Linked DNA regions of Homo sapiens: regions 2, 3, 4, 5, 6 and 7 are each linked to region 1. The links are contacts of gene promoters, found by promoter capture Hi-C in blood cells and fetal thymus (Javierre and others, 2016). All regions are on one chromosome and are shown on one strand. Each heading gives the region's core, a stretch centred on a gene start or on the middle of the fragment in contact. The rest is flanking DNA. Distances are from core to core; before and after follow the strand shown. Region 1 holds the start of SEL1L (SEL1L adaptor subunit of SYVN1 ubiquitin ligase). Region 2 overlaps TSHR-AS1 (TSHR antisense RNA 1). Region 3 overlaps GTF2A1 (general transcription factor IIA subunit 1). Region 4 overlaps GTF2A1 (general transcription factor IIA subunit 1). Region 5 overlaps GTF2A1 (general transcription factor IIA subunit 1). Region 6 has its middle 14 kb from the start of GTF2A1-AS1. Region 7 overlaps STON2 (stonin 2).

The links. Contacts are between HindIII fragments. The CHiCAGO score rates a contact against its expected background, and 5 or more counts as called.
Region 2: a fragment that was not itself captured here is called in contact with the fragment with the promoter of SEL1L in region 1 in 5 of 17 cell types (activated CD4 T cells, total CD8 T cells, monocytes and 2 more); the score reaches 6.9 in activated CD4 T cells.
Region 3: a fragment that was not itself captured here is called in contact with the fragment with the promoter of SEL1L in region 1 in 6 of 17 cell types (total CD8 T cells, total CD4 T cells, non-activated CD4 T cells and 3 more); the score reaches 7.1 in total CD8 T cells.
Region 4: a contact is called between a fragment that was not itself captured here and the fragment with the promoter of SEL1L in region 1, in 10 of 17 cell types (naive CD4 T cells, non-activated CD4 T cells, total CD4 T cells and 7 more). The highest score is 8.6, in naive CD4 T cells.
Region 5: a fragment that was not itself captured here is called in contact with the fragment with the promoter of SEL1L in region 1 in 12 of 17 cell types (non-activated CD4 T cells, total CD8 T cells, total CD4 T cells and 9 more); the score reaches 13.2 in non-activated CD4 T cells.
Region 6: a fragment that was not itself captured here is called in contact with the fragment with the promoter of SEL1L in region 1 in 4 of 17 cell types (naive CD4 T cells, naive CD8 T cells, non-activated CD4 T cells and 1 more); the score reaches 7.1 in naive CD4 T cells.
Region 7: a contact is called between a fragment that was not itself captured here and the fragment with the promoter of SEL1L in region 1, in 3 of 17 cell types (naive CD8 T cells, neutrophils and naive CD4 T cells). The highest score is 6.2, in naive CD8 T cells.

Annotation. Positions count from the first base shown.
Region 1 is chr14:81,532,070-81,535,659 of GRCh38, forward strand. SEL1L (SEL1L adaptor subunit of SYVN1 ubiquitin ligase) reads right to left here and starts at 1,784. Exons shown (of 21, transcript NM_005065.6): 1 at 1,606-1,784. The coding sequence starts at 1,675. RefSeq lists an enhancer at 1,572-2,071 and a silencer at 1,788-1,907. The HindIII fragment of the contact is 11,079 bases long and covers 1-3,590 here.
Region 2 is chr14:81,156,890-81,160,479 of GRCh38, forward strand. The region is part of intron 2 of TSHR-AS1 (TSHR antisense RNA 1); the gene reads right to left. Among named protein-coding and RNA genes, the nearest start is that of TSHR-AS1, 12 kb to the right of the region's middle. The HindIII fragment of the contact is 239 bases long and covers 1,488-1,726 here.
Region 3 is chr14:81,173,121-81,176,710 of GRCh38, forward strand. GTF2A1 (general transcription factor IIA subunit 1) reads right to left here. Exons shown (of 9, transcript NM_015859.4): 9 at 2,332-3,590. Among named protein-coding and RNA genes, the nearest start is that of TSHR-AS1, 4.5 kb to the left of the region's middle. The HindIII fragment of the contact is 721 bases long and covers 1,560-2,280 here.
Region 4 is chr14:81,198,453-81,202,042 of GRCh38, forward strand. GTF2A1 (general transcription factor IIA subunit 1) reads right to left here. Exons shown (of 9, transcript NM_015859.4): 4 at 3,142-3,206. Among named protein-coding and RNA genes, the nearest start is that of SNORA79, 2.6 kb to the right of the region's middle. The HindIII fragment of the contact is 2,552 bases long and covers 307-2,858 here.
Region 5 is chr14:81,214,013-81,217,602 of GRCh38, forward strand. It overlaps GTF2A1 (general transcription factor IIA subunit 1), which reads right to left. Exons shown (of 9, transcript NM_015859.4): 2 at 2,401-2,502. Among named protein-coding and RNA genes, the nearest start is that of GTF2A1, 5.2 kb to the right of the region's middle. The HindIII fragment of the contact is 2,914 bases long and covers 568-3,481 here.
Region 6 is chr14:81,233,279-81,236,868 of GRCh38, forward strand. No RefSeq gene overlaps it. Among named protein-coding and RNA genes, the nearest start is that of GTF2A1-AS1, 14 kb to the left of the region's middle. RefSeq lists an enhancer at 2,095-2,254. The HindIII fragment of the contact is 4,433 bases long and covers 1-3,590 here.
Region 7 is chr14:81,260,484-81,264,073 of GRCh38, forward strand. STON2 (stonin 2) reads right to left here. Exons shown (of 8, transcript NM_001394390.1): 8 at 169-3,590. Among named protein-coding and RNA genes, the nearest start is that of GTF2A1-AS1, 41 kb to the left of the region's middle. RefSeq lists an enhancer at 3,374-3,590. The HindIII fragment of the contact is 4,982 bases long and covers 1-3,590 here.

The DNA of each region.
Region 1 (3,590 bases), core at 534-3,033:
TACAACATCCTGAAAGCCCCAACTGTTGATCTTCAAATATCTTTTCCACTGGCATGGAGCTCTAAGTATATAAAATGCAGTCAAAGACAGACAGCACAATTCCTATGCTTTAATTTTCTTTAAACTCTGCCAATTAAATTCAGAGGGATACACACCGTGCTCTTTCATTACTGTAGTTCTCTTTAGTGTGAAGAATCCCTCATGGAGATTGTTAATCTATGTATACCTGAGCTGTTCCAGACCTAAAACCCAATGTTTAACAAACCCATAAGAGGAATTCTGATGCAGGAGGTCCATGGTCCAGCAGGTACTCTACTCATTAAGCTCAACAGCTTCATTTCATGCTTTTTGATCAAATATTAAATAACTGCTAAAAGTGCTTCGAGAGTTAAGTATAGTCTAAAGATCTGGTCATTAACTCAAACCATCACTACTACTGGAGGGAGGGGAGTGGACCTGAAAGAATGATGTTGGCAGTAAAGTAATTAGCATAGGGTTGGTGCTTTTGAAATGGTATCTCAAACCACATCATGGATAGAATTTAGGTTTAAGCCTCTTATTTTAGAAGCAGAATGACGTTATGGCATTGATTTACAACTAGGACAGGTAATTTGGGGATTCAGATAACCATCTGGGAAATTTTCTGTTAAAAAAAAGCTGACATTTATTAAAAAAAGAAAAAGCTGACATTTATACTCCGTGTTGTCCCCCCAAAACGTCAAGCCACAGAACACCTGTCCTGTTAACTGAAACTGATTAAAATTCCAAAGTTTTACTGTACTAATTTTTATTTATCAACACTTAGAAACACGAAGTTTTCATGAACACTCTCAAAATGGAAATTTTCAAATGTAGGCAGATTAAAACATTAAAAAAGGGGGAAAAAAGCAGAACCAGAATAAACATTAGCTAACTGGAAAATCAATTCAAAAGCACACAAATTTCTGTATCTATATAAAACGCATCTTATAAGAACCAAGATTTTCCCAAACATCATAAAATGACTGTCAACAAACATGGGGCAACTCAGAAACACTGTGACAGGTCACCGCTTTCTCAGGAAGGTTTCAAAAAAGTAAAAAGTGGCTACGATGAGATCAAAAGTCTTCGTTTTTAAACAGACAGACCAGGGACCATCTCAGGTGTTAAGCAAACTACTGTCAACATCCTGGTCTGGATGGATCCTCCTCTGCCCCAAAGTGACAGCTCCAGGTTTGTCAATTATTTAACTTACAATTCCCAAGCCCAGAGTTCTAGACCAGACCCTTCCTCTACCCCAGGGTCGAGGAAGCTCCACTCGGGCTCCTGTATCAGGATTCATTCCTTTGGAGTCAATTCCGCGTTCGTGAGAAGAGTCGCGCAAAGTTTGTTACGTGGGAGAGAGGTGTGGGCAGGGTGACCGCCCCTTCTTTTTCCACCCCACTCCACCTTCCTAAATAGCCCCTTTGGCGCAGGCCAAGCAAAGCCAAAGAGCGAGTGACAGCCCAGTGCGAGATGTGCCCAGGGAGAACGGGGTCCCGAGCCTGGAGTCCCCACGGCCCCGCCGGCTGTAGAGGCTGGGGGGCGGAGGCTCTGGGCCTTCAGCCCGAGGGGGCGGATACTGACCCGAGGACGCCGAGGCCAAGCTCAGCAGCACCGCACACAGCAGCAGCGTCAGCCCTATCCGGACCCGCATCCTCCTCTCGGGGCCGGTGCCAACCCCTAGAGCTGTCGCCTTCGCCTCTGCCACCACGGACTCAGCCACCACCGCCGCCTCGCCGCTGCTCTTCCTGCTCTAGTCTCCTTCCTCCGCCCCTTCCCAGGCTTCCCTGACCCAGCGCGCAGCCAATCCCCGCCCGCCGTCGCGGGCTTCTGGTCCAATCACCATGGTCTCCCCGCCCACCCCCATTGCTCCGCCCCGGGGGTCATTCATTGGCCAATCATTGTACGAAGCTCCCACACCAGCTTTCTCGGTTGGACCACGACTCACGGACATGGCCCCAGCTAATTGGTAGCCCCTGGGTTCAACCGGAATCAGCGCGTGAGTCCAAGACTGGGAGAAAGAGGCTCATCCGAGACTACAATTCCCAGAATGCGCTTCATGTGATTAACTCGGGGGGTGCTCTTGGGAAACGTAGTCCATCGTAGGGCAAGATTTACAAGTGCGGGTGACTGTTGAAGTTAGAATTTAACTAACACCTGGGCTAAATATTAACTCAAGGCTATGGATTCACAAGCCTTTTTAAATTGACCCAAAATAAATATTAAGGAATAATTTTAAGAACTTGTAATGTGTTTAGCATCTTTTCCTGTTTTATTTAAAAAATTTAAATTGGGCATAGTGATAAGAGCACTGAGAAAAATGCCACAGCTAGTTGAATTTGAGGTGTTTTTTAAAACTTAGATAAAACAGTACCGTGAAGTACGGAAACCAGGGTGCAACTCAGTACCTGTCCTCCTTTCTCCGACAAAACAAAAGGAAATAAATCCGCTCGGCACAGATTATCTCAATACAGTATTTATTTTCACTAGGTTCACCAGACAATAATCATAAAGAAAATGTGCCAACAGCTTTGAAAAATTATTTTAAACACTTGTCCTCATCCTTCTCCTCTTGTGAGTTGCATTGTTCTCTTCTTTCCTAACTAAAGTCAGGAGACCAGGTTCACGTGTGTGGAGGTAGAGGTGATAGTGATTGCATCGCAGGCACGGAAATACTCTATGTAATAAGCACGAAATCCAGGCATGTTCCAACTGAGTAGCAGAGCAGTGACTTGGTGTGCCTGCCCTTTCTTTTCTCAAACCGTGTCATTCTGCTTTCCCTGTCATCCACCCACAGTCAGCTCTAAGGCCTAGAACCTAGTCCAGCCAAGTGAAGGACTTTGGAAAAGTCTCTGCTGGCCATGTGTCTTAACACTTCTGGGCATTTGTCTTCCTTCCTTTTTTTTTTTGTTTTTTGTTTTTTGTTTTTTGAGATACAGCCTTTTATTTTCAGGAAGATGGTAAAAAACCAACCACTGTTTCTCATTCACATCGGAGGAGATGAAGGAAAGAATTATCTCCTCCAAAAACTTGTCTTTTCAGCTACATCACCATTTCTGTCACTAACAATGTTCCCTCTGAGTTCCTCTGATTATAAATCATAGAGTAAAATCTGGTATATTTTCCTTTCTTTTTCATCTTATTGATAATCAAGTTCTATCAGTTTAAACTATGTAACTTTTAAATTGTTTTATTTTATTATGTACCTCTGTTCTCTTCCTCACTGAAAACTCCCCTAATGGCTTTCATTTTCTCTCACCTGGATGATGCACCTGAGTTCCAGCCATACTCACTGACATCATTCTCCCTTTAACCTGAATCACATATCATGGCCATATTAATTTTCCTTAAACACTGCTTTCATATGCCTATTGAAAATTTTCAATGGCTACACTTTTCACAGAATAAAAAAAATTAGAACTTATTCTACTCACAAAATAGGAACTGTGCTGACAGTTCTACTCTGTTGGGGAAGTACCAGGGAAGAAACTTCTGCCTTCTACAGAAGAGCCAGTGATTATCTGTTTGATTAAAACTGGGGAAAGTTTGCTGCTTAGTTAAGCCCCAAC
Region 2 (3,590 bases), core at 357-2,856, 380 kb before region 1:
TATACTAGTTTATTTATCATGTTATAATAAACATAATGGGACATAAGCTCCACAAAGGCAGACATTTTTGTCAGTTATATTCACTGGTGCATCCCAAGAGCCTAGAACAATCCCTGGCACATAGTATGTGCTCAATAAATACGTGCTGGATTTGAATTGAATTTCTGATATATTATTTTTCATGTCTATGAAATGTTTAATTGATGCTGAGCCCTTAAAAATGTATCCTCCCCCAAACCAAACATCATATGTTCTCACTTATAAGTGGGAGCTAAGCTATGAGGATGAAAGGCATAATAATGATATAATGAACTTTGGGGACTCAGGGGGAAGGGTTGGGAGGTGGGTGAGGGATTAAAGAGTACACACCAGGTACAGTGTACACTGCTTGAGTGACGGGTACACAAAGATCTCAGAAATCATCACTAAACAACTTTCCCATGAAATCACCACTAAACAACTTTTCCATGCAACCAAACACTACCTGTTCCCCAAAAACTATTGAAATTTTAAAAAAAATGTGTCCTCTCAAATATAATAGCTTACCCCTGGTAGAGCATGAACATTTGACAATTTTCTGTTTTATGATATAGTCATCCTCTGTAGTTAAAAATTAGACATGGCCTTATATAAATTCTTACCGATCATTAAAAAAGAGTCCACTGTCCATCATTTTCTCTGTAAGAAGCCTATTCATTGAGTCATCTATCTTACAGTAAGGAAGCACTTGTGGTTACAAGCTAAAAACTCCTGCAATTCAGTAAAACTCAGTCTCAACTTCCCATTTAAAAGCCCAGAGAACTAGTCATCTACATGCAAGAAAGTGTTTGAATTGAGCATTTGTTTGACTTGTATTCATTTATTGAGTACCTTCTGCAAGCAGAGCATATACATCAGAATTTTTTTAACTGTGTCCCAGACTTTAAAAAAACTTTGAATCTAGAGAGGAAGATATATGTGTCACCACAGTATAAAAATTATTACAGTTTCTGAATGTTACTACAGAGCAGTGTTACTCCATAGAAATCTATCCTAAGCAAAAAGAACAAAGCTGGAGGCATCACACTACCTGACTTCAAATTACACTGCAAGGCTATTATAACCAAAACAGCATAGTACTGGTACATACATAGACACATAGATCAATGGAACAAAATAGAGAATCCAGAAATGAAGCCACATACCAACAATCCAACTTATCTTCAATAATGCTAACAAGAAGTTACACTGGGCAGAGGACTCTCTTTTCAATAAATGGTGCAGGAAAAATTGGATAACCACATGTGGAAGAATGAAACTTGGCCCCTATCTCTCACCCTATAAAAAAAAATTAACTCAAGAAGGATTAAAGACTTAAACATAAAACCTGAAACCATAAAAATCCTAGAAGAACACCTAAGAAAAACTCTTCTAGATATTGGCCTACGCAAAGAATTCATGACTAAGACGTAACAAAAACAGAAAAATGAAACTTAATTAAACTAAAAAGCTTCTGCACAACAAAAGAAATAATCAACAGAGTAAACAGTCTACAGAAAGGGAGAAAATATTTGCAAACTATGCATCCAACAAAGGACTGATACCCAGAACCTACAAGGAAAAACTTAATAAGAAAAAAAGCACTTGTATTACAAACCAAAAACCCCTGCCATTCACCAAAACTCAGTGTCAACTTTCCATTTAAAAGCTCAGAGGTCATTCACATGCAAGAAAAACTGTTAAATTAAGCTTTTTCATTTTTTTTTCTTTTTGTTTTTTGTTTTTGTTTTTTTTTTTTTTGAGACAAGGACTCATTCTGTCACCCACCGCAACCTCCACCTCCCAAGTTTAAGCAATCCTCCCACCTCAACCTCCTGAGTAGCTGGGACTACAGGAGAGCACCATCATGCCCAGCTAATTTTTTGTACTTTTTTGTAGAATGGGGTTTCGCCATGTTGCCCAGGCTGGTCTCAGAACTCCTCGACTCAAGCGATCCGTCCGCAGCAGCCTCTCAAAGTGCTGGAATTACCAGCATAAGCAACCATGGCCTGCCTGAACTGAGCTTTTGTTTGGCTCAGTTCAACAAGAAAAAAACAAATAACTCCATTTAAAAGTGGGCAAAGGATGGCCAGAGACGGTGGCTCACGCCTGTAATCCCAGCACTTTGGGAGACCGAGGCAGGTGGATCACCTGAGGTCGGGAGTTCAAGACCAGCCTCGCCAATATGGTGAAACCCCGTCTCTACTAAAAATACAAAATTAGCCGGGCGTGATGGTGCACATCTGTAATCCCAGCTGCTCCGGAGGCTGAGGCAGGAGAATCTCTTAGAACCTAGGAGGTGGAGATTGCAGTGAGCCAAGATCACACCACTGCACTCCAACCTGGGCAACAAAGGAAGACGCTGTCTCAAAAAAAAAAAAAAGAAAAGAAAAGAAAAGTGGGCAAAGGACATAAACAATGAACAGACATTTCTTCAGACATACAAGCAACCAACAAACATGAAAAATGTTCAACATCACTAATCATCAGAGAAATGCAAATTAAAGCCACAATGAGATACCATCTCACACCAGTCATAATGGCTATTAATTAAAAAATCAAAAAACAGCTGATGTTGCCAAGGATGTGGAGAAAAACAAACGCTTATACATTGTTGGTGGGAATACAGAAAAAGTATGGAGATGTCTCAAAGAACTAAAAGTAGAACTACCATTTGACCCACCAATCCCACTGAGTACCTACTCAAAGGAATAGAAATCATTCTATCAAAAAGATGCCTGCACTCTGTGTTTATCACAGCACTGTTCACAATAGCAAAGGCATGGAATCACCCTAACTGTCCATCAACAAATGATTGGAGAAAGAAAATATGGTATACATGCATCATGGAATACTATGCTGCCCTAAAAAAGAATAAAAGCAGGTCTTTTGCAGCAATATGGATGGAGCCGGAGGCCACCATCCTAAGTGAAATAACTCAGAAACAGAAAGTCAAATATTACATGTTCTCACTTATAAGTGGGAGCTAAACAAGGGGTACACATGGACATATAGTGGGAAATAATAGATACTGGGGAGAGTCGGAGGGGGCAAAGGTCAAAAATTACCTATTGGGTACAATGTTCAGTATTCAGGTGACGGGTAGACTAGAAGTGCAAACCTCACCATTATACAATATAGCCATGTAACAAAACTGCACATGTACCTCCTGAATCTATAAGAATTTAAAAAAATTAAGGTTAAAAGAAAAAAGTGAAAGTCATTTTAATAATATACTTTAACCCACTATTATAATATCATTTTGACCCAAAATCAATATGAAAATTATTAATGAGATATTTTACATTCTCTTTTCTTCTAGCTCAGTCTTGAAAATTCAGTATACACTTAAAACACATGGCAATTTGGAAACTAAATTTTCTTCAGAAATACCGTAGCCACATTCAAAGTTTGTAAAATGTACACTTGAAAAAAAAAAGACTTGCAAACCCAAATTGCTCTAAACAGACTTAAAAGTTTTTCATAACTGAATTGAGTGTTGTTTTTTTAAACTTGAAATTCAATTCATAAAAATGAAGTAAAATTGAAAACTCAGTTTCTCAGTCTCACTA
Region 3 (3,590 bases), core at 670-3,169, 360 kb before region 1:
CATACTTCAAAACCAGTATTTCCAAACACTTCTCTCTGCTCCACAAAAGCTGTGTCTGTAAAATCTTTCAGTGTCCTTCTTCTACCTTTAATACCCTCCCTGAGAACAGGAACTCTTGGTTGTGGGAGACGAATTCTATGGAAAGGCTCCAGAACACATGGAGCATGTCAAAAAGGAGGCTTTAAGAACATGAAAATAACACTAAGTATATATATCACACACCCTCTTTATAACATAGAACTTAAAAGCTGAGTGCCATCTCAAGATAGAGCACAGGGTCCTTATACATTTCACACCAAGAAGGAGAGGAAGTCTTGGAAAGTTGATCAGAGCAGATTTGTGCTAGAACAAGTTCAGGAAGATGTCAAGGACTTTGGAGTCTCTGTGCTCTTTCAACTCCTACAAATGGACCTCCAGTGGCCTCATCCACTGAGGCCGATTGGCCCCCAGAGAGAGATGCTATGCAAGGGATGAAGAATCTTGAAGGGACTCTGCCAATTCTACCAATCAGTCACTTCACCAAGACTGTAGGGAGTTTGAATATGGGTTGTCATGGTACACATAGTAGGTATTCAAGTATTTGCGGAATACATGAATGACACAAAATATAATGGGCTTAAATGTAACAAACTCCTTTATGTTCGAAGATAATCAGCCAACCACAATTGTGATGCTGGTATTACAAGTATTGCTATTTTGGTAATTCACTGAAGATTTTTGAATAGGATATTGAATGTCTAATGGGAAGAAGGGGCTAATTGGGAAGGCAAAAGACTCCTACAAGGGAAAGGTGATATCTTAAGACACACTTTGCATGAATAATGCTTTTCTTTCTTGGTTGCAAACAACAGAAACAGACTTATTTTAAGCAGAAAAGGGATTGGAAGGGTACAGTAGTTTGCAGCCAAAGTCTGCTTAGGAGGTTGCCAATAGCACTCTTGCCCCAGTCAATATCACACCACCAGACCTGAACATATATAGGACCTCTGACTGATCCTGCAACTTTGTTTCATGCTCTTAAGACTCAAAGTCCTGAGTGTAAGCATCAGTCTGACCACCTCAGATTTTGGTCCCTGTTTCTGGATCCAGTGACAGGTGACTTCTTACTTGCTATTCTACTTCCATAAAGAGGTATATATTACCCTCCATTCTTCTTGGCATGAAGCAAAATAGGAAGGGTATTCTGACACTGAGAAGCCAAAACAACAAATGTCCCTTGTACATCCCTGCTGAAAGTGAACAGCTCTAAAGAGCTTTACTCTCAGCCGGGCGCAGTGGCTCAAGCCTGTAATCCTAGCACTTTGGGAGGCCAACGCGGGTGGATCATGAGGTCAGGAGATCGAGACCATCCTAACATGATGAAACCCCGTCTCTACTAAAAATACAAAAACAAAATTAGGAAGGCGTGGTGGCGGGAACCTGTAGTCCCAGTTAACTTGGGAGGCTGAGCCGGAAGAATGGTGTGAACCCGGGAGGCGGAGCTTGCAGTGAGCTGAGATGGTGCCGCTGCACTCCAGCCTGGGCAACAGAGCGAGACTCTTGTCTCTAAAAACAAAAAAAGCTTTACTCTCTTCATCTCTTGCAACTAACCTGGGTGAACTTTAGTTTTCCTGGCCCTATTTGCCCCACTCAGCAATGCCACCCTAACCTATGCATCATTAGCATGGAGGTCCTGTCAACACAGAGAAGTCAATGTACTCTTTTTCAAAGTGGAGGAGACATTGTGAGAATCAGAGTGATGTATCCGTATCTTCAATGTTTGACAACTCTGTTTTGCTCCTTAAATGAACTGGACAGACTCCATTCATATTTGGAAAAGTCCATTTTTAAAATGATAGTTCTATCATAGTTTTAGCTTTGAGAAAATTCAACTTATTTAGACATATAATTTAGGATTTTTTTGGCGGGGGGAGAGAGGGAGCTTAAAGGCCCTCCCACTGTTTGATTATCCCTCTCCCATACCCAGCACTCAATTTTCTTCCCTCTGACACTTTCTGCTGTAGCCAGATGCATTGTTTCACCAACTTACCCTCCCAGGATTGTTTGGTTATAATGAACTCTTTCACTGGTTCTCAATTTGTTTTTGCTATTTTTGACCATTAATTTTTTCCGGTTCAAGAATAATTTTAAACTATGCAAATAAGTATGAAATTAAGCATATAATTGTGACATCTGAGTGCTGACTGTGTACCAGGCACCAGCCTAAGAGCTTTACATGCATCACACCTCATTTCATCCTCAAAATCTTGTCATTTTACAGCTGGAGAAACAAAAGCCAAAAGCTTAAGCTTAATCAAAGTAGGGGCTTGAATTAAACTGCAAAATACAAGATTTGCTGGCAATAAATAAGATATCTTTATTATGATTATGTTAATAGTTAAAATTTGCATGTTTTCTAGATAGTCTGTTAACAGGATAAAAAAATACAAAAAGGCGAGCTTCTTAATGATTCAGCTGAATTAACTATAAAATTAAAATACCTGCTAATTATTATCTTCTAAAATAACACAAAATATATTCAATACGCAATACAAACCTCAGTAATCCAATTCTCCTAATATGCAATTATTTATAACCTCTGAACTAAGAGGAAGTGGTTTGACTAAACAGAGAAATAACAATGTTTTTATCCTAAGTAATCTATACTTTGGAGTAGAAATACTTATTTAATACAATATGTTAATTATTAATATTTCACAAGGAGTAATCTTTATTTTGAAAAACAATGTTAATTATACCAATTTTTAGTTATAATTTGTTAGTGTGAATTCGCCCAACCTAAATTCCTGTGTGCCTGGAAAATACAACTTTTTAAAAGCTAGTATTAATCATTTGTAACACAGTTTACTAATTCAAATTGACATCTCAATCTACTTATCTTTAAGGTACAGAATTTAGCATCTTTTTGTTGTTGTTAAATGGAATTCTCATTAACAATGTAAAGCATTTTCCTTTCTAAATTGTATTTTATTCAATTATCTATAACAATGCCATATACTAGTAAGCAAAGCAAGCAACATTTTTTTTTAAATAACATCTTTAATTAAAGTTTTTGCAAAGTAGAATATTAAACTTAAAATAGGTCTTAGTACATCAAAATACTAAGTTCTCTAATTGTATTCCAAGATGGTCTTTAAAACATAATATCCCATATATCACAGAAGAGCAACCTTGATCTGCAATGAATTTTACAAACATAATAAATATATTTACGCCATTACACATAACAGTATGTACAACAGCAGTTGACAATAGTAGCTCAGAACAGCAAAAAGGATTAGCCCCGCCCCCCAAGTCATAGTCCTGATGTAGACTGGACTGATTAAGGAACCTTGACTGAAAGAGTAGTTACTAACTCAATGTGTAGTAACTTCCCTTAAAAGAGAAAAGTTTTTTTGTTCCTCAAAATAAACAAAAATGTTAGTTTGGTGTGTTCTTCATTAAACCATAGACAATGACAAAAGACAAGAGTAAGGCAGGCTTAAAAAGGGAACAATATAAACTTCGTAATAATTTTCATAGCATAATAGAGGACTAAAATGCAAAGCTATTTAACAAACTCATGAGGAAACAAGTAAAGCAACTATTTT
Region 4 (3,590 bases), core at 333-2,832, 330 kb before region 1:
GAAATCAAGTTAGTATGTGACACTTAAGTTATAAAGATATAGACGGGATTATATTATGAATTTCTTTAAATCCAGGACAAATTCTTGACTTCCTGGAGAGTTCTGGAGAGTTTTCTCCTCCTGTCCTCCCGCAAAGAATTATGCCATTCTCTGGTTTTTTATTCTGCACTTTAAGTATTTTCCTGTATCCCGCTATAGCTACACATTTTGGTAGTTTTTTCCCTCTCTTTTCAATCTTCTTTAGCTACCAACCATTCATACATTCAATCTAACCTATACAGTTTTAGAACTACCCATATCTGAAAAAGCTTAAAAAAATAAATATAACTGCTTTGGAAATGCTAGTGTCAGAGAAGTCAACAAACTTAGAAAATTATTAAACTGAGTTAATAGTTCAACTACTGTCTAGTCTGGGCTCTAGGTACATAGCTTTCCAAGAAAATACACTTGTTGCCACTTGACAAACCTAAGTAATTTCTACATCTTGGGCCTGAAATTCCCACTGTGTCTCCAGAATTTAACTATAGCCCACCCGGGTGATTCGTATTTAAGTTGGATACTCAATTACCCAATTTAAAATAAAACTTGGCTATATAAGCAAATTAAAGGTTATCTAAGTTTAAGGAAAATATTAACCACCACATACTATTAAGAAATATTTAAAAAGAAAAAAACAAAAATATTTAGAAATATTAAGTGCCTATAATTCATATTTTGAAAGACAGCAATTCTCCCTCTACCAGCAAACTGACATAGTAGTTTCCATATAGAATACACGACCCAATAACTACCTGCACACCCTCCACAAATTCAAGCTGCATAACATATATTTGCTGAGTCATGTACCATACACTAACCACCTTATACTTAATAACTATTAAAATTTCTTCTTGTATTCCACAAAACAGCCCAAACACAAATAATGCATTAGACCAATCATTTCATAAAAAAGAACCGAAAACAATGGTTTTCTAGAAGTTCCCTGAAATAGCCTTCTACTATATTATCTCACGTTTTTATGATTAGTTCATTTCTAATGCAAACAGAGCCATTAGAAAGAACAAATATATTTTTGCTATTTCTAAATCAGAATAATGCAAACCCACAAAAACCTAAAACACTTTTATTGGTACAGAGCCTATACTGATTATGTTCAGAAATACATGAAGGAAACACTGACTAAAAACAACAAAGTAAAATGTAAAATATACAGAAATGTTAAATCAATTTTCCTGAGTAACTGACCTATGATTTGTTTAAATACATATGCTCTTTAGAATAAAGGAGACTTAACCAGTAAGTAAGAGATGGACCACTAATTTTTATCCCAGAAATAACTTACTAATTCAAAATTCTCTTCCACAACATTTAAAATTCTTTTAGAGGGGCCTACCACAAGAGACTCTGCCAAAATTTGTTTTAAAATAATGTGAGTTATTCCCTAGGATATAGTCTTAATAACATCAACTACAATAAGCAACATATAGTGAGACTTTTTTTTTTTTAAGGGTGGAGGTTAAAAAAAATTGGGGCCTTAGACTTAAAATGGAGTTTTTTCCAATAAAAAATCTTGTGAGAAATAACAGGCATGAAATTTTTTATTTTCATGTAAACGAAAAGATTCTAGAAACTGCAACTACAAGTACAAACAGAGATCCTCGATATTTGTGAATTTAAAAACTGCAATTTCTACTATCATGTAGAAACTTTCAATTCTGCCACAGTATGAATTTGTGAGGCTGGTAATGTGTAGGAGGAAGTCATCTGTCTAGTGGGTAAGCCCTTCTTATCTGGCTTATAAACCACAAATGAACTTTGTGATTCAGTATCACTCACAAAGTAGAACTCATCTTTTCATACACTGCTTTTTGGTTTAAAAAAAAACTTGAGGCTGGGCGTGGTGGCTCACACCTGTAATCCTAACACTTCAGGAGGCCGAGGTGGGCAGATCGCTTGAGGTGAGGAGTTGGGCGACCAGCCTGGCCAACATGGTGAAACCCTGTCTCTACTAAAAGTACAAAAAAATTAGCCAGGTGTGGTGACATACACCTGTACTCCCAGCTACTCAGGAGGCTGAGGTGGGAGGATCACTTGAACCTAGGAGGCGGAGGTTGCAGTTAGCCAAGATCACACCACTGCACTCCAGCCTGGGTGACAGGGTAAGACTCCATCTTCAAAAAAAAAAAAAAACTTGAACGGAGGGAAAAAAAAATCTCATTTCTAGTACTAACTAGTTACATAGGTTAAAAGATCTTTTTACAAATATTGATTCTTTCACCTTTAAATAAAAGTTTTGGCTGAAGAATGAAATGTAAGAGCTGAGTCACCACTCAATGAAATCAACAGTCTGTATATTTTAAACAGAATAAAGAAAAACCATTTATAAGGAAGTATTGAACTACTCTAATCTGACTATATTTTAATGTTTTATCCAAAAAAAAAAAAAAAACAAAAAACAACTTCAAGGATATAGGTAAAGATTTTCTAAGGATCTGAAGAGGTTCTTTCAAGTTTACAGTTAACCTATACTACATTTGTTGAGAAATATTATATGTCTGAAATGTAATTTGAAAATATGAGTGAGGACTTGTAAAGTTTAGTGGATAGTCCTCAGAAATATAAAAATTCTAATATAACTCAGCTGGTTAAAATGTATTCTGTGGTAATTTACACACTATAATGACTTATTAGACTATACTATGGTTAAGTCAGAGTAATATTTTTAAATGCTTGATTTTAAAAATAGTTATACTGAACTATCCAGTCTATCTTCATTTTTTAAAAGTTCACAATTCTTAGCCTTCCCACCCTCTTGCAATTACTAGGTCTCCTGAAACAGAACCATACTTGGCATTATAAGCTTGGTAGGTACCCTAAAACTTTTTCGGAAATAGTAGGGAATGGAATAACTCTCACAAAGCACCATTCTTTTGGTATTCTTAAACAATTCCGTAATTTTATGAACCTTAATGTCTAGGTACCAAGCTAAACTTCAGATCCAATATTCAGGAAACTAAAACAGCTGTTTTGCTTGAGTCTTCAATAAACTTCAAGTAGTTAATATAGGACATATATAGGCATAATTACAATGTGGGTTAGAATTAAGTACAGCCAATCAAACTGCTACATTCTGAGTCTTACCATGTTTGATGCATTCATATGCTGTATCAACTTAGAATCTGGAACAATAACTTGTGGTGCTGTGGCTACAAAAAAACAAGCGAACATGCAAACAAGGAACCATGAGGCTATTTTATAATCACAAGAACACTTTACATACAATGATGAAAACTTTTTTCATGTTTTTCATGTTTTCTGCACTCAAATGCTTTCAATCATTTCATCTCAGGACATTATAAATGTATATGGCAAATAACAGCTGTGATATACCCACCCTATACTAGAAAACATTAAAAAATATTTAAGCCCAGGCGTGGTGGCTCACACCTGTAATTACAGCACTTTGGGAGGCCAAGGCGGGTGGATCACTTGAGGTCAGGAGTTCAAGACCAGACTGGCCAATATGGTGAAACCCCATCTCTACTAAAAATACAAAAAAATTAGTTGGGTGTCAGGCTGAGGCATGAGAA
Region 5 (3,590 bases), core at 775-3,274, 320 kb before region 1:
TTGTATTTTTAGTAGACATAGGGTTTCACCATGTTGGCCAGGCTGGTCTCAAACTCCTCACACAGGAATATTCTTATTGAAAATTCTAGAGAAGTTTCCTGTAGATACCTATTAATAAATACGCCAAGACCTACCTCATCACCGCAATCAAGGTAAGATTTGCAACTGGTTGCCAAGTTGCAGCCTCGACACCTATGCTGAATGGATGAGACCACAACAAATGTTCCTTAACATTTATTAACTGTGATTATTTATTTGTACATAGATTTAAAGGAGCCTAATAATCAACTTCTAAACCAGCAGTTCTAAAACTCTTTCATCTCAGGACGATTTATCAAATTACTGAGACCCGGCCGGGAGCGGTGGCTCATGTCTGTAATCCCAGCACTTTGGGAGGCCGAGGTGGGGGGATCACAAGGTCAGGAGATCGAGACCATCCTGGCTAACACGGTGAAACCCCATCTCTACTAAAAATACAAAAAAATTAGCCAGGCGTCGTGGCGGGCGCCTGTAGTCCCAGCTACTTGGGAGGCTGAGGCAGGAGAATGGCATGAACCAGGGAGGCAAAGCTTGCAGTGAGCCAAGATAGCACCACTGCACTCCAGCCTGGGTGACAGAGCGAAACTCCGTCTCAAAAAAAAAAAAAAATTACTGAGACCCTCAAAGAGCTTTTCTGTATGTGAATTACATCCACCTATATTTATACTAATAGAAATTATAACAAATTTTTAATTTTCACTAATTTGTTTAGAAATAATGGATCCATTATATGTTAACATAAATAACATTTTTCTGAAAATAGCCATATTTTAGTAAATAAAATTGAGTGAGAATGACAAATGACTTAAAGGAAAATAGCTAGATTCTCGTATCTGACCCTGTTTTTGCTTTGTTTTGGTGGAGGTGTACAAAGAAAATCTGCCTTCCTACAATTAAGTAGTTGGGAAAAGAAAAGGTACTTTTAAGTGACAGTTTCTTAATAGTTAGTTACAATGCAGAATATGAAACCATATAACTGTGAACTTTTCATACTTTTAAAGTCCATTAATTTATCTTGCATTTTGAATGAATTTTCCAACATTATGCATTGGATATTCAGAAAATACAAGTTCAGTGAATTATATGGATCTTTCAACTGTAAACACACTTCATTACGGAATATCAAACAATCAAATTTCTTAATATCAACATTGAGTCCTCATCTTTTTAATATTCAGTTTGTCAGAAATGAGAAGTATACATAAAGCATTTCTGCTGCTTATTTACAGTTATCTCAAGGAAAAGCACCTGTGCACTTGAATTGTGAATTTAACTGGTCACTTTTCTCACAGAATACAACTTTTACTTGAAAGAATGACGGGCAAACTATGATTTTCCAGACTTAAGCATTTAGTCAACCTTGTGGACCCCCTGAAAGAACCCTTGGGGAGAATCCAGGGCTCCATGAACTATACCTTGAGAACCACTATTCTAATCAACAGGGCAAAAATATTCCACAATTTCATGAGTCATTACAATGCAAGGAAAACACAACTGCTAATAAAAAAAATCTAAATATTTCCACTTGAATCCAAGATACAGAAAACCAGCTCTCAATGTAAAATATATTCAAAACATTCGGCCTACATAAAGGGTCTACTTCAAGAACCTAAAATTCTTTTATCAAGCACTTAATCCCTACAACTTAAAACACACTTTAGAATACAGGTACATTAAGACCATTAAAAAAAGATAAGATTAAGGCTGGGCGCTGTGGCTCACACCCATAATCCTATCACTTTGGGAGGCCGAGGCGGGAGGATCACTTGCAGCCAGGAGTTCGAAAGCAGCCTTGACAACATGGTGAAAACCATCTCTACCAAAAATACAAAAATTAGCCAGGCATGCTGGCATGTGCCTGTAGTCCCAGGGGTGGGAGGATGGTTTGAGTCTGGGAGGCAGAGGTTGCAGTAAGTCCAGATTGTGCCACTGCACTCCAGCCTGGGCGACAGAGCCCGACCCTGTCTCAAAAATAAAAAACGAAAAAAGAAAGCAACAAAATTCTTCCAGACATGTCAAGTAATTAGACCATAAAATGTAGAATGTTAACTATCCAATAATAACTGCTAATGCTACTATCAAGCATTGTGCTAAGATTTTATATGGTTATTCCATTTAATCCTCAAAACAAACCTATAAGGTAAGTACTACCAATTTCCATCTTACGTATAAGAAAACTGAAATATAAATGTAGCTTGCCTAAGGTCAGAGGAAGAATGCATGGCAGAGTTGGGATTTAAAACCAGCACACTTCACTCAACTATACGTTCATCCTATAGAAAAATTACAGATTCATCTCCGGCTAAAGAAAATGTTTTGTGGGGGAAAAGTAGGAATATTTTAAAAAAAAGACAAACTCACAGTTTTTAGTTCCATCAGTACTTGTTCATCCACTCCATCATCCAGAAAGATGTCTCTCACATCATTAATGACATCTTCAATCACAGATCTGTATAATTTAGGCTTTAAAGGAAAAATAAAAGACTTGAAAAAGACAGTTTTTCACAGCTTATAATGTATAACAGGTTTTCACAAATTCAAAACGAATAGTCATTTTGCCAACTATCTATATATGACTTTAAAGATACGACCACCATCATTTGCCATAAACTGGATTTGATGACTGCACACTTTAATAAAAATTTTAAGATTAATGCAGTTCATAAACAGAAGGCCCCTAAGACTACAAGGTCCATACAATTTCCAATTATAATTTCCTATGTTGTAGTCAAAATACCTAATGTAATGTTCAATAATAGCTTTACGGGTTGCTTATGTCTGGCTTCTACTATTCCATGCTTGGTTTGAACTCTGTTGTATGTCTTACTACCTCACCACTGTATCTTAGACTTTGGAGAATCTTATGTCCGGGAGTCATCTGCCTGGTAATAATCTGCAACCTAATGAACATTCAGGTTTAAAAATCACCTAACTTCTGTTGTGTGACCCAGTCTGTACTTTCAAGCTGTACCATTAAACTACTCATACACTCACAATGGCAGGTCTTAAGGTCCCAAGGAACAAGGTATACTGATTTCCTTCCCAGGATTTCTCCTCTACTACTGCCCAGGTAATGCTATGAAACATTATAATGAACATGAACCCTCTAAATGTTTACTATTATTATTACAATTAGCACCGTTGATACTACTTGGAGGAGCGGGAAGTAAAGAAGCTGGCTTCTAGAAGGTTGAATGGTAAAATGAGTAAAATGAGAATAGATGTGAAAGAACTTTCAAAAAGTATAAAATATTTTTTAAAAACTACAAAGTGGGAGATAGAACAATTAGCCCAATCCACATCCTATTTTTTCCCCCACATCCTATTTTTAACCTGTTAGACAAAAGGAAGTCATGTCAGATGACAAAACTAGAGCTGCCTTGACAAAACTAGAGTTGCCTGGTTATAAATCCTCCCCATTATCAGAGGGTTATGGTTAACAAGCTTTTTAGATGTTTTCTCATTACTTCTGTTTCATACCTTGCTTAAGGTTAATCGCTATCAAATAAAACCAATTTTGGGAGGATCGCTTGAGCTCAAGAGTTCAAGAC
Region 6 (3,590 bases), core at 426-2,925, 300 kb before region 1:
GGCCATATTTGATTGGCCAAAACTTGCTGACTGATATAAGAGTAGGCTACGGTCTATATACAACTCCATTTAGGTTATAGTTCATGATGTACACAGACACCTTTAGGCTGAAGTTAAAATATGTAAGGAAGAAGGTTTAGGCTAAACTTGATTTAACAACATTATACTGATTGGACCTAGTGAGTGAGAAGTGGCAACTACTCTTAGACTTGTAAAACAGTTGTGTGTCCAAGAATGGGAGATAAACCTGACTAAAATTCAGAGGCCTTCTATCTCAATTAAATTTCTAGGGGTTCAGTTGTGTGAGGCATACTGAGATAGCCCTTCCAAAGTGAAGGATAAGTTGTTGCCTTTGGCCCCCCCTACAGCCAAGAAAGAATTGTAACCTCTAGTGGGCCTATTTAGATTTTAGGTGCAACCTATTCCTTATTTGGATTTGTTACTCTAGCCCATTTACCAAGTGACCCAAAAAGCTGCTAGTTTTGAGTAGGGCCCAGAACAGGAAAAGGCTCTGCAAGAGATCCATACTGCTGTGCAAGCTGCTTTGCCACTGGGGCCATATGATCCAGCCGATCCAGTATTGCCTGAAGTCTCAGTGGCAGACAGGAATGCTGATGGAGTCTTTGGAAGGCTCCTGTAGGTGAACTGCAGTGCAGCCCTTTAGGATTTTAGATCAGGACCCTGCCATTTTCTGCAGATAACTATTCTTCTTTTGAGAGACAGCTCTTGGCCTGTTACTGGGCCTTAGTAGAACCTGAGTGCTTGACCATGGGCTACCAATTACTGTGTGACCTGAGCTGCCCTTCATGAACTGGGCATTATTTGACCTGCCAAGCCATAAAGTTTAGTGTACACAGCAGCACTCCATCATCATGTTGGTCAGGCTGATCTCGAACTCCTGTTACTTTTGAACATCCTAGTCATTAATATATGGCTCTGAAAAGGGGGAAAAAAAGAAAAATAAATGGAGTAGGGGGTGCCAGCCCTTTTAATCCCCTGGAAGTTGCTTCAGCTGGAGGGGGAGGGGCATACAACAGTTGGGAGAGGTCAACAATGGCTACCTGCCTCTGTCTGCACCTTTGTGAATCAGAAACAGCAATCAGTGATTAAAGTCCAGATCCCTGATATTTGGAGGAAAGGGTCCTTTTTACTCACCCTGGCATCTGCAAGCTATATGAAAGCTGCTCCTGGAATGTGTGCATGGCTGCTTGCCAAAGGGCTGGGGGGTGGGGGATGGGTAGCTGCTACTGTGCTAAGCTAAAATTGACCAGAATTAACTGCAATTTACCATCCAAGCCTTCCCTGGAAGCTGCAAGCCTTCAACAGACACTAGAGTTTCAAAATAGGTAAGACAGATTCCCTCAGTGCAATTGTTGTCAAGTTGGGGAGACAGATTTCAGGTGCTCTCTACTCTGCTATCTTCCCAGAGTCCTCTCTTCTAATAATTTTTTGAAGGTGGTATTTATTAGAGACTATTTCCTAACTGTTGGAAAAATCCAACAGAAAATCAAAACATAATAGTACAAGAGAAAGTGCTTATTACAGACATCTGTCCTTGAGAAAGGCTGAAGATAGGCTTTAGAGGTGTTCATCTTTGCTAGGAACATCTTTTGCTTTTGTGTACTGTAAAAGGAGAAAAAAATGTGGGCAAAGAAAGTCAGAATTGAAATGAGAGAAAAGAATGTTAGAATGAGCTAGTAGATTTAGTGGGGAAAGAAAAGTAACTCCCTGGGATTGCTTTCACTTTTTCTATAGAATACAAGAGAAAGTTACCAGCTGAGAGTGAGGTGTAAAAGATACTAAGGGATTGTGAGAAGTTTGAGAAAAGAGGAGAACACCCAAAATAGCCATTTCTTGAGAGCAGAAGATCAAATGTATTAAATACGGGTATAAGTTTGTTATGTAGAATTGATTGCTCACTTGAGATTTGGAGTGAGAATCATCATGGCTGCATACTTTGATCTGTTAGTTACTTGTGGGAAAGCACAGACTAGGTGGGCGTTTAGGCTTAAGTAATGTGCAGACATCACTAACTGTCCCCAAATAGTCACATCCTCTTTTCTTTTAATAATAGAATGCCCTGAGTTTTAGCCAGTTGTCTTATTTCATTTGTGCTGCTACAACAAGATACCTGAGACTGGGTGACTTATAAAGAACAGAAACTTACTTTTCACAGTACTGAGGGCTGGGAGTCCAAGATTAAGGAGCTGATAGGTTCAGTGTCTGGTGAGAACCTGGACTCAGCTTCCAAGATAGCGTCTTCTGGAAGGGAAGAATGCCATGTCTTCACATGATGGAAGGAATGAAAGGGTTGGAAAAGAGTGAACTTTCCCCCTTCAAGTCTTTTATAAAGGCATTTATCCATTTATAAGGGCAGAGCCCTCATTATCTAAATAACTCCCCAAAGGCCCCACTTCCCAGCTGATCCAATAGGGTGCGAAATGTGATGTGTGCAACTCCTGAGTCATCTTCATAAAGAGGAGACCACTTGCCCTGATCTCAGTGAGTGACTATGATGATAGTCCATTGAATCTAAGGGGTTCAATGAGATGTGTGTCTTTGAAAGGGCAATAGATAATGAAAAAATAATAGACTCAGTGAATTGGAAGTTGTAATGAAATAAAATTTTGAAGTGAGATATTAGATAAATTGAGAGGTGACAACGTGCTAGCAGCCCTCGCTCTCCGTGCCTCCTCGGCCTCAGCGTCCACTCTGGCCATGCTCGAGGAGCCCTTCAGCCCGCCACTGCGCTGTGGGGGCCCCTCTCTGGACTAGCCGAGGCTGGAGCCGGCTCCCTCTGCTTGCAGGGAGATGTGAAGGGAGAGGCGCAGGCGGGAACCGGGGCTGCGCATGGTGCTCATGGGCCAGTGCCAGTTCTGGCCGGGCACGGGCTCAGCAGGCCCCACACTCAGAGCAGCCGGCTGGGGGCACCGGGCAGTGAGGGGCTTAGCACCTGGGCCAGCAGCTGTGGAGGGTGCGCCGGTTTCCCCAGCACTGCCGGCCAGCCCGTGCCGCCCTTGAATTCTCACCGGGCCTCAGCCACCTCCTGATGGGGCAGGGCTCGGGACCTGCAGCCCGCTATGCCCATGCACCACCCCCTGTGGGCTCCCACGTGGCCTGAGCCCCCCGCCACCCCCTGCTCTGTGGCACCCGGTCCCATTGACCACCCAAGGGCTGAGGAGTGTGGGTGCCTGGTGCGGGACTGGCGGGCAGCTCCACCAGCGTCCCAGGTGCAGGATCCACTAGGCGCAGGATCCGCTAGGGGAAGCCAGCTGGGCTCCTGAGTTGGGTGGGAAGTTCCAGAACTTTTATGTCTAGCTGGAGGATTGTATATGCACCAATCAGCACTGTGTATTTAGCTTGGGGTTTGTGGATACACCAATCAGCACTGTGTATCTAGCTAATCTGGTGGGGACTTGGAGAACTTTTATGTCTAGCTAAAGGATGGTAAATACACCAGTCAGCACTCTGTGTCTAGCTCAAGGTTTGTAAATGCACCAAACAGCACTCTGTGTCTAGCTCAAGGTTTGTAAACACACCAATCAGCACCCTGTGTCTAGCTCAAGGTTTGTAAATGTACCAATCAGTGC
Region 7 (3,590 bases), core at 287-2,786, 270 kb before region 1:
TTGAATTGACTAAATTATATCTATGACAAATTTAACTAGGATAATTAAACAGGTCATTTGTTAATTTGTCAGCTTATGATCACTAACCATACAAGCTGGGTGACTGGCCTTATATTAATAAGCATTACTCTTCATATGTCTGACTTCATTAAATTTGGCATAGTGATATTTTGTTCAAAAATTTTTTATTAATAATTCATTTTCATAGCTCAGAAAAGGATATAATCAGTAGAACAACTAAAAACAAAACCTCACCTCTACAGAGATAGCCAGTGTGTAGACTTTATTACATAGGCACATATTAAAAAAAAAAAAACATAAACTGGTTTTACATAAAATTAACCACAATAGTGCAAGAGGTTACACTGAATGAGAATGGATGATGAATGATGGAAAATGTAAGGCTTGGAACAGCTGAATCATTCACTGGATCTTGGGTTCATCCATCCTGACGCACTGAAATTTATTACAGACATTACAAGAATGGAGGGTGAGGAATGGTGCTTCTCTGTCATCGCCTGGCTAAAACACTGATTTTGATTAATCTCTTGAATACGGTAGTTTTCTCCAGGTTCTCTTGTTAAGTAGACATAAAAGTTAAATGAATGCTGGCTTAAGGTCAGAGGAGTTCATATCCTTCTCTTCCCTCACCCCTATACTTTAGAACTCTCACACCCAACAATTTGCTGTTGGGACCTGACTATACATCTGCTTTCCCACAATGCTCTGGTAGAATACCACTGGGGTTGCTGATCCAAAGCACATGGAGGCGCAACAGTGCTTAAGGCTTCAGTCATGGTGTGGGGCTAGACAGCATCCCCAACTAGAATTGAGGGTTTGATCTGTGGGGTAACACGAGCAAGCAGGAAGAGGATGCTGGAATTCCTTACTCTGTCCAGTTGGAATCAATCCAACACATCTGACTACCACAAATACAACCAGAAAAGAAACTAAAATTACACACTCAAACATACCATGAAAGAGATGCTATTTTGTAGCTTGTACATAGTTTAAAATTTTTTTAACTACAATTTGATGTTACTAAGAGACAACGAGGATACAGAGGGGACTGTCCCTTTTCTCTCATCTGGTTTTGCCATAACTTACAAATAGTCCCAGGATGTTTACTGAGTGTCCTCCTTCAATTTTCACAATATTTTATACAAAATGACAAATATATATATACCTCATTGATTATCCTATCATCCCCAGTACTTGGAGGGTTAGACCTACTTCTGTGTCAGGTAGCACCCAAATCCTAACATCTATTTTGGAGACCTGTCTGTGCCTCTTCATGCTCACACCATTGTTCTGATAGATGATGCCAGTGGAACTTCCAAAGAAGCATTCCACCTGATCTTCACCACCCTCTTTGATCCTCTTTTTAAATCTGTGTGTGGAAGGCAACTGCAATATAGAGGATTTGGAAGGTTGTCTGTTTCTGTTGTCTGGGGAAATGATAAAAAAAAAAAAAAAAAAGAGAGAGATGTGAAAAGGAAAAAGATGGACCAGGTGATTTTTCCAATCTTCAAAATTTAAATTTCTTGGTTCTTATAAACATAGGAAGAGTCACTGAAAGGTGGCACCAATGGATATTTTGTAAAATAACCCACAACTTTAGAGCTGGAAAGGACTTGAAGAAACAATTAATCCAACTTCCTCACTTTTTTGTCTCAGGAAACTGAAGCCCAATTGGGAAAACAGCAACTTACTTAACATAGTGATTGTCTCCATGGCTATGTCCTGTAAAGATTCACAGAAACCCCAATTTCCCCTTAATAAATCCATTATGGCATGCCTATGAGTGACTTTAAATAAACAATCCTCAATGTCCTCGTGTCTAGCCTTTCCTCCCTTTAGGGAAGCTGGCTGCTAACACAGCACCTGACCAGAGTAGACATTTGATAAATATTTGTTGAGTTGAATTAATCCTGCCATCTATCCCTTTTTACTATGCAATCTTTATTTTTCCTGGAGCTTCTTACTTTTAACTTTAAGAGATGGCTTCTAGTTCAAGTATTTTGAGGCTTGGTACCCAATGCTGATTTGTCATCTCTCTAGATTTTACTTTTTCATATTGAAATTCTTTTTTTAGTCTATTCTCTTGTAGCTTTTGTTACATCCAATGATCATTTGCCTCTCTCCAGGCACTACCAAACTCATTACTGTGGATAGTTTCTGCCTTTACAGGCTTAGAATTGACAAATTGAGAGACACATTTTTTTTTCAATTCTCAAAACAACTAGACTCTTTCCAGCAGATTTGCTAAGGCACACTAGAAGAAATGTAAAAATCTCACATTCTTGTTCTAGTTAATACATGGGAGAATATTACTAATACATACATTTGTTTTCTACATTTGTGGTTGCCTTATACATCTCCTTCACGTTTAATTCCTTAAACACATAAATATGAGTCATGATATCTAAAGCCAGTCTCATTTAAACAAGATAAGAAATGGTTTGTGGGGAATTAGCACTTAGACCTTGGTAATGTTTAGAAATCATCTTTAGAAACTTGGTGAGAATGCCCTAATTTTATGTAAAGGGTCGTCATGGTTTGAATGGGACTTAGTAGTAAAGTGTGTGAGACAGTGCATTTACCAAATGATATTTTTTTGTGGATTTAATTTTTTGTTAGTTTTGCTTGAAATTCCTGTTAAATTGCATTCTGGACATGACCTAAGGCTAGCTTGTCCAACCCTTGGCCCATGATGGTTTTGAATGTGGCCCAAGACAAATTCGTAAACTTTCTTAAAACATTATGCTATTTTGGCCAGGCGCGGCGGCTCATGCCTGTTATCCTAGCACTCTGGGAGGCTAAGGCGGGTGGATCACCTGAGCTCAGAAGTTCAAGACCAGCTGGCCAACATAATGAAATCCCATCTCTACTAAAAATACAAAAATTAGTCAGGCGTGGTGGCACATGCCTGTAGTCCCAGCTACTCGGGAGGTTGAGGCAGGAGAATCACTTGAACCCGGGAGGCGGAGGTTGCAGTGAGCCGATGTCGTGCCACTGCACTCTAGCCTGGGTGACAGACTGAGACTCCGTCTCAAAAAAAAAAAAAAAAAAAAAAACAAAAAAGAAAATGCTATTTTTTGGCCATGTTTTTAAAGCTCATCAGCTGTTGTTACTGTATTTTATGTGTGACCCAAGACAATTCTTCTTCCTATGTGGCCCAGGGAAGCCAAAAGATTGGACCTCCCTGACTAAGGTCTAGATATGCTGGAATTAACATATAATCCTCATTTTTAGAAGAGTTAAAGTTACCACTCGAACTGGGAGCATTTCTATAAGCAGGCTGGATGGTAGTGCTTCCTACTTAAACCAATTTAATATTCCCAAGGCTTTTAAGAAAAAACTTCAGCTCATTCTGTTTTCCCACCACTAAACTTATGGTGAAATATATATCACCTCTGAAATCATGACTTTATCTCACAAATTTTGACCTTACTATCTCAGACCTCCATCTTACTGTGGTGACAAAATAAATGCAAAGTAACGGTCAGCGGTTAGTGCTGGAAGAACAAAGACCTACTGCATGAAGACTGGTTGTGCACTCTATCAAATGCTTTCTTTTCCTACTGACC